Linked DNA regions of Homo sapiens: region 2 is linked to region 1. The links are contacts of gene promoters, found by promoter capture Hi-C in human tissues and cell types (Jung and others, 2019). All regions are on one chromosome and are shown on one strand. Each heading gives the region's core, a stretch centred on a gene start or on the middle of the fragment in contact. The rest is flanking DNA. Distances are from core to core; before and after follow the strand shown. Region 1 holds the start of PACS1 (phosphofurin acidic cluster sorting protein 1). Region 2 has its middle 16 kb from the start of RNASEH2C.

Region 1 (3,841 bases), core at 877-3,376:
AGGTTATGAGCCGGAAGGGCCCGGCTCCTGAGCTGCAAGGTGTGGAAGTGGCGCTGGCGCCTGAAGAGTTGGAGCTGGATCCTATGGCCATGACCCAGAAGTATGAGGAGCATGTGCGGGAGCAGCAGGCTCAAGTAGAGAAGGAGGACTTCAGTGACATGGTGGCTGAGCACGCTGCCAAACAGAAGGTAGGCGCTTCCAGGGGCGCTGGGCTGGGTGAGAGCCAGGGACCCTGGCCTGCCGTTTTCAGTGGCATGGTGCCCTCTAGTGGTGAGAGTGAGGGTGGCCTCTGCTTGCTGCTCTGTGCTTCCTTAGATTTGGAAGTCTTAGAAATCCTCCAGTGGGCTGCCCTCTTTAAGGACGATGAGGGGGAGGAACTCAGCCAAGTCTGAGAGGGAGCTCGAAGAGAATTCAGATTCAGCGCCTTTCCCACAGACTTCTATGTCTATGTCAGGCTGCCCACCCTTGTTTTGGGGGTCCGGGGGTGGTTCAACCTGTCTTAACCTGTGTCTCTTTCTCCCTATACAGCAAAAAAAACGGAAAGCTCAGCCCCAGGACAGCCGTGGGGGCAGCAAGAAATATAAGGAGTTCAAGTTTTAGGTCCCCTCACACTAGCCCTTTTTTTGGCCCTACGTCTGGATGCCTGGGCTTCACACAAGAACCACCTCTCCCGCAGTTCCCAAGGACTTGTCATTTCATGTTCTTATTTTAGACCTGTTTTGTAAATAAAGCTGTTTCCCAAGGAAAGAGATGAATATTTAACACTCCTGAGCCTCCCTCATCTCCTTTTAGCCCCTTCTTGCAAAAGGACTAAAATAGTCTCTTTCTACAATCACTGGGCTGCCCCAGTAACCACGAACATAAACTGGGATTAGACGGCGCATTTGACTGGTGGTGACGCCAACCCCAGGCTGAAATCTGTGTTTCACCACTGCCCTGCTTTGTAGGAAGGCTTGGGGGAAGTACCTCTAGGTCTGGTTTGACCTTACTACTTTGTCCTTGGGGAGTAAAAATAGCCAGATTAGCGCCCTAGCGCGGCAGAGGAAGTAACAGTGGGCTTGGGAAGTAGGCCAGGGCAGGCCTTCCCAACTGACCTTGTGACCAGAAGTTCAAGTCCTTACCTGTGCGACAACATAGCTCAAAAGCTAAATTGTCTTGAGTCCATATGAACCCTTGGGTTCAAGCAACACTAGTCGCTGGGGTTTGGGATTTGTATGTGGGATGGGGGGACTTACTTTCTCCAGGTTGTAATCTGGTCCTGAGCAGCCTTTCTGACAGACTAGAGCAGGCTGGATCACTGGCTCCCATGGGCATTTGCCAGCCTGTGGGGAGGGTAGTCATGCGCTGCTGTTGTACTACTGTTGGTGTTTAAGTGCACCAGTGGAGGCGCTCACTTGCCGGAGGGTTCAAGATGGTCTCGGGGTTGTGGGGGGCATGATCCAGATAGGACGTGGCAGCTGAGCTAGGCCTTAGGAGGAATGGAATTTTAGAAATTTGGTAAGCAACAAAGCACTGGCACTCTAAAGAGGCATTTGGGGGGTAGGGAAAGAAGAGGAAGGTTGGCTCCAGATGGGCCCCGGGGTAGCTTGAGAATTCACTTATGCGAAGAACCTTCTGGACTCCAGGTCCCTGAGCCCCCGCTTGCCCTCGGGGCGGGAACTTCCCGGATCACAGGCACCCGCGGTGGCAGCGGGCCCCGGGTCTCCGCCGACCTCTCTGTTTGCCGGGGCCGCAGGGCAGGGCTAGGTCGGCAGGCGGAGAGCCGGCTTCCCCGGGCAGACCCCCACCGCTGGGGGCGGGTTCCGCATTGGCTCCGAAGACCCGAGGGGCCGAGGCGCGCTCCCGCGGCGGCCCCCTCCCTGCAGGGACCGAATCCCGGAAAAGCCGGGTTTCCGCTGGCGGGGCCGCGGCCGGCCGTGGGCGGGGAGGGGAGGAGCGGGGGCAGACTGGCAGCGGATTTGAGGGCAGGACCCGTGGGCGCGCGCTGGCCACAGACCACCCCTTCTACTCCGCGGGAGCGAGGGGCGCGCGTGGCTGCACGCAGGGCGCGAGCGCGCCCGGCCCGGCCCCTCCGCGCTGGGTGGGGCCGCGCGGGCCGGGCTCCCCGCCCCCTCCCGGACACGCCCACCCGTGTCGGCCTCGCGAGCCGCAACAGGCAGCGGCGGTCGAGCGCGAGGCCCGCGCGCCCAGAGGCCCCGCGCGTGCGTGCAGCTCGCTGGCTGCTCGCGCTCGGGCAGGCGGGCTGAGGAGGCTGCCGCGCCCCCGCCGCCGCCGCCGCGGGGGAAGCCTGGGAGCCAGATCGGCGTCGCCTCGGCCTCCGTAACCCCCGCCTAGCCGGGCCATGGCGGAACGCGGAGGGGCGGGCGGTGGTCCCGGAGGCGCCGGGGGCGGCAGCGGCCAGCGGGGATCCGGGGTCGCCCAGTCCCCTCAGCAGCCGCCGCCGCAGCAGCAGCAGCAGCAGCCGCCGCAGCAGCCGACGCCCCCCAAGCTGGCCCAGGCCACCTCGTCGTCCTCGTCCACCTCGGCGGCGGCTGCCTCCTCCTCGTCCTCGTCTACCTCCACCTCCATGGCCGTGGCGGTGGCCTCGGGCTCCGCGCCTCCCGGTGGCCCGGGGCCAGGCCGCACCCCCGCCCCGGTGCAGATGAACCTGTACGCCACCTGGGAGGTGGACCGGAGCTCGTCCAGCTGCGTGCCTAGGTGAGCGCGGGAGGGTGCGGCGGGGCGCCGGGGGAGCGGGGTGGCCGCCGGGGCCCAGCCCTCCCCGCCCCAGCGCCCATGGGGTCCCCGCCCTCCATCTCCCCGACTGTCCCGCGGCCCGGCCTGGCTCCAGCCAGGCCTCCCGGGACTCCTGCCACGGGGACCCGCCCTCTCCTGGCAGCCCCACCTTCTGCCTGGGGCCGGGACCACCCTTCTGTCCTCCCCGAGGGACCTTCTGGCCTCGGCCCCGGGCTTTCTCCGATTGGGCTGACCGAATCCGGCCTTCCTGGCAGTCAGTTTCCCTGAGTAAGTCACTCTCCTGCCTCGCCGGCGCCGGGAGCTGTACATACATGGATGTGGTATAGATCTCTTGATATTATTATTTCCCAATAGACTCAGCATGTGCCAAACTCGATTGTCACCTCTTGCAGGTAAAGCTCATATAATCACCCTAGGGGCTTCTCATTAGCCTTCGGCACACATGTTCATTTGAACTTCATATTACACACGTTCTGTCCCAAGCGCTAGGCTCTTAGTTTTGGGGCCCTATTTAATGTGTCCTCAAGTGTATTTTTACCTCCCCTCCCCCACTAAAACTGGTCCCAGAATCTCCCAGCTCTGCAGGGCTGTATGAAATTACTGCCTTGTTCCTAAATTCAATCCATTGCTCTCTGTCTGTTGGAACCATCTGGGGACTTTCCTTCCATTGGCAAAATAGGCCTGAGTTTGGGAATATTTTCTGTTTTTGTATTGGCAAGGCAGTCTGTCTCCAACTCTGGGGACAGGGTGCTGTGTCTTACAGTTTGCCACTTGAATAAGACGGTGTGTGGAGCTGGTTTCACCCAGAAAGCCCAGAGAAGTGCCTGGAGGTGTTCTTTTTTGTCACCTTGTAGCTGAGTTGATTCTGTTGCCTTGAAGTCTTGGGCTGTCTCCTCACTGTTGGTTAGGCAGACGGATGTGTAAGTCAGAGTTAGAGAGGATTGCTGGGCTCCCCCCTCGACTGTCTTCCTTTCCCCACCTTTATTCTGGATAATATTGTTTTATATATATATCCCAGATAGGAATGATGAGAGTACATCTTTCTGTTTCGCTCAGCTTAAGGAACAGAGCATTATCGCTTCTGTTGAAGCTCTCAGGGTGCCCC
Region 2 (3,841 bases), core at 754-3,253, 330 kb before region 1:
AACAGGGATTAACCTGGAGAACATTATGTTCAGTGAAATAAGCCAGGCACAGAGAGACAAATACCACATGATCTCACTTATATGCAAGATCTAAAACTGTCCACCTCATAGCCAGCTGCAGTGGCTCATGCCTGTAATCCCAGTGCTTTGGGAGGCTAACATGAGAGGATTTCTTTTTCTTTTTTTTTTTTTTGAGATGGAGTCTTGCTCTGTTGCCAGGCTGGAGTGCAGTGGCGTGATCTTGGCTCACTGCAACCTCCACCTCCTGGGTTCAAGCGAGTCTCCTGCCTCAGTTTCCTGAGTAGCTGGGACTATAGGCACGTGCCACCACACCCAGCTAATTTTTGTATTTTTAATAGAGACGGGGTTTCACCATGTTGGCCAGGATGGTCTCAATCTCTTGACCTCATGATCCACCCACCTTGGCCTCCCAAAGTGCTGGGATTATAGGTGTGAGCCACTGCACCCAGCTGTGAGAGGATTTCTTGAGGCCAATAGTTTCAGACCAGCCTGGGCAACATAGTGAGACCCCATCTCTACCCCCCCAAAAAAAATTAGTCAGGTGTGGTGATGCACACCTGTAGCTCCAGCTACTGGAGAGGCTGATGCAGGAGGATCACTTGAGCCCAGGAGTTCAAGACTACAGTGAGCCATGATTGTGCCACTACACTCCAGCCTGGGTGGCAGAGTAAGACCCCATCTCTAATACAATACAGTAATATAAAAATGTTGTAGAATGCAAAGTATTGTTCCTGGGTGTGTCTGTGAGGGTGTTGCCAAAGGAGATTAACATTTGAGTCAGTGGACTGGGAGAAGCAGACCCACCCTTAGTCTGGCGTGGCACCATCTAATCAGCTGCCAGCACAGCTAGATTAAAACAGGCAGAAGAACATGGAAGGACTTGACTTGCTGAGCCTTCCGGCTTTCATCTTTCTCCCTTGCTGGATGTTTCCTGCCCTCGAACATCAGACTCCAAGTTCTTCAGCTTTTGGACTCTTGGACTTACACCAGTGGTTTGCAGCTCTCGGGCCTTTGTTCACAGACTGAAGGCTGCACTGTTGGCTTCCCTACTTTTGAGGTTTTGGGTCTTGGACTGGCTTCCCTGATCCTCAGCTTGCAGACAGCCTATTGTGGGACTTCACCTTGTGATCATGTGAATCATTACTCCTCAATAAACTCCCCTTCATATATACATCTATCCTATTAGTTCTGTCCCTTTAGAGAACTCTAATATACCTGTCTAACTGAAACTTTGTACCTTTTGAGCAATATCTTCCCATTTCCCACTCTCCCATGCCCCTAGCCTCTGGTAATCTCTGGATACCTGATCTAAGGGGTCCAACAGGATATTTTCATTTTTCAGGTCATAAGATGGGATGGGTTGAAACCTTGTGCCAGCATCATCTTTATGTGGAATCTAGAAGACATAAACTTAAGTAGGAGGTCAACAGGAAAATTATAATTTGGAGGATGAGAAAATTAATGCATCTATGCCCATGGCATCATGTTTTTTATCTTTGTGTTTGTGAAACAACAGCTTTAAGTCTTATAGGAGCTCACAGGTGTAAATCATGGTGTCCTCCTCTTATGCCGTCAGGGATTCATAAGAAACAGATTTAATCTTGGACAGGTGTACCCAACTAGTGATTCCCTGAAGTTTAACAGCAGGGAAGGTACTTAACAATACCTGATAGGGGCTCTTCCATTTGGGTTGTAATTGATCCTCTGGGGATCCTTTTTAACAAAAAGTTTTTTGTAAGACTAGGTGTTCAGGTTGAACAGAGGAGCTATTTCTTTCCTATGTGGGAAAGGGAAGTACTTTGTTATTATAATTTTTGAAGGGCCTTTGTGCCTAGCCTAAATTCTAAGGGGTGGCACAGTGAGGCATGTTTGGCCCCCTGTTTCCTGTCATGGTCTGACTTCTTTTTTTTTGAAGGCTTCTTTGGAATTCCCTTTGGCTAAGGGACTTAGAGTCAAAAGACTTATAGCCAATTAAACATCCTAGGTCAGAAGGAAATGGAGGTGAGCAGGCACTCATTTGCCCTTAAAATCTTTTAAAGCAATATAAGAGTCAAAAACTAAATGCCAATAATAAGGTTATATGTAAAAAAAAAAAAAAAACAGCATAGAATCAAGCTATATTCGGGGAAAACACTGTTTTCGCAGACCTCTAAGACAAAACATTTTAGTACCAGGGCCCAATAGTCAGAACCAGAGGAAAAAAAGTCACAATGTTGATGAAAAGGTTGATGGAAAGAGCCATCATCCCAGGCCTTCTTAAAGGGAGAAAGAATTGAAAGTAGTGAGACACAACAACAGTTGAATCTCTGAGACATGAATCCAAGACATTTTAAAATAAACCAGGTAGATTATTAAAAGCAAAACTTCCTGTAATTTAGCAAATCAATACCTTAAGAAAACCTGTTGCCAATATATAGACCATTCTCTAGAAAGTCTACCACAGTTTTCCTTTAGTCATAGTCAGCTTAAGCTTAATCATACACAAAATTCCCCTTCACAAACCCCATCATGACCCACATGGACCATCTACAACATGCTTGGACTTTCTGACTTGTCCTATAGGACCCCTTCCTTAAAGAACTCATCATTTTACTCTAGGATAAGAATTTACTACACAAGATCCCTCCTCATATAAAATAACTTTGTATTCTTCCTTGTATCCTTCTTTATATCCTTCCTTGTATCCTTCTTTGTATTCTTCCTTGCAAAAAGTACATCTATCCATAACTTTCTTCATATCTCTCTTTTCTACTTACTGGTTCCTTCATATTTTGAACCTCTCTTTTAATAACTTCCAAATTAGACAAAAATTATTATTTTTCCCAATAAAAAACACACTTTCTTTGGCTTATTTTATATAAATCTAAAGAGCAAGAAATTCTGAACTGCTCATCAGACATTGGCACTCTATAGATGAGAACTATTTCACAGCTTTAAGATTTTCAACTATACATAAGCTCACTGTTTAAAAGCCATCCTAACCATTCTAAAGGCTACAAACATCAGAGGTTCATCTAGGTAAAAATCTTAAAGTTAAATTTTAGAAGACATAACATTCCCTTCAAACTAATAAATTTAGACTAGTCTTATTTTTTAATTTATGAATTCTCTTTTATTTATAAGCCAATTTGATAGTATGCTAAACACAACACCCATCACACAAATGAAGTGACCTACACAAGACAGATGGATCCAAGTTACTTATAAAATTGGGACCTGTCTATCTCAATACATTTTGTTTGCCCAGATACGTAGGGAAGACAGGAAGAGGCAGAGAAGGGACCCCATAGCATCAAATAAGGAAGGGAGGTGGTAAACCATGTTGCTCAAGGGGAGGTCTCAGAGTCCTTGAGCTACCAGAGCATCTAGCAGTGGAGACACCAAAGAAAAATGTTCTGGTGGCCACTTGTCTTCCACTGCAAAAAGCTGTCCATTGGGTCAAGGGTCCAGGAATCTGAGTAAATTTACTTGAGCAAGGTGGCTCATTGGGACATATGGAAGAAGGTTAGTTCTAATATTGACGGGGAGCTTTTTCCCTCGTTTGCTGGGGATGGTTAGGACATTCTCATTGTGAATGGTCCTTTTGCTTATAGTAGGCACATTGATTCTGGACCAGGAGCCAGTGAGTTGGGGGCTCTCATCTGGGCATCCCAGATGGTGATCTTGTGACACTTTCTCAGGATAGGTAATTCTAAGGTGGCAGGGGACTTAAAGTAACAGCTAACAATTGCACTTTTTGGCTATTTCTTTTCTTTTTTGAGACAGGGTCTCACTCCAGTTGCCCAGGCTGGAGTTGCAGTGCATTATCTCAGCTTACTGC

The links. Contacts are between HindIII fragments. The study calls those that stand out against the background at their distance.
Region 2: a fragment that was not itself captured here is called in contact with the fragment with the promoter of PACS1 in region 1 in 2 of the 25 tissues and cell types used here (IMR-90 fibroblasts and mesenchymal stem cells).

The regions. Positions count from the first base shown.
Region 1 is chr11:66,068,146-66,071,986 of GRCh38, forward strand. It overlaps PACS1 (phosphofurin acidic cluster sorting protein 1), which reads left to right and starts at 2,127. Exons shown (of 24, transcript NM_018026.4): 1 at 2,127-2,697. The coding sequence starts at 2,342. SF3B2 (splicing factor 3b subunit 2) reads left to right here. Exons shown (of 22, transcript NM_006842.3): 21 at 3-188; 22 at 529-1,163. The coding sequence ends at 600. RefSeq lists an enhancer at 1-139 and silencers at 1,687-2,306, 2,317-2,366, 2,517-2,646, 2,657-2,806, 2,867-3,071 and 1 more. The HindIII fragment of the contact is 13,254 bases long and covers 1-3,841 here.
Region 2 is chr11:65,734,478-65,738,318 of GRCh38, forward strand. No RefSeq gene overlaps it. Among named protein-coding and RNA genes, the nearest start is that of RNASEH2C, 16 kb to the left of the region's middle. The HindIII fragment of the contact is 9,114 bases long and covers 1-3,841 here.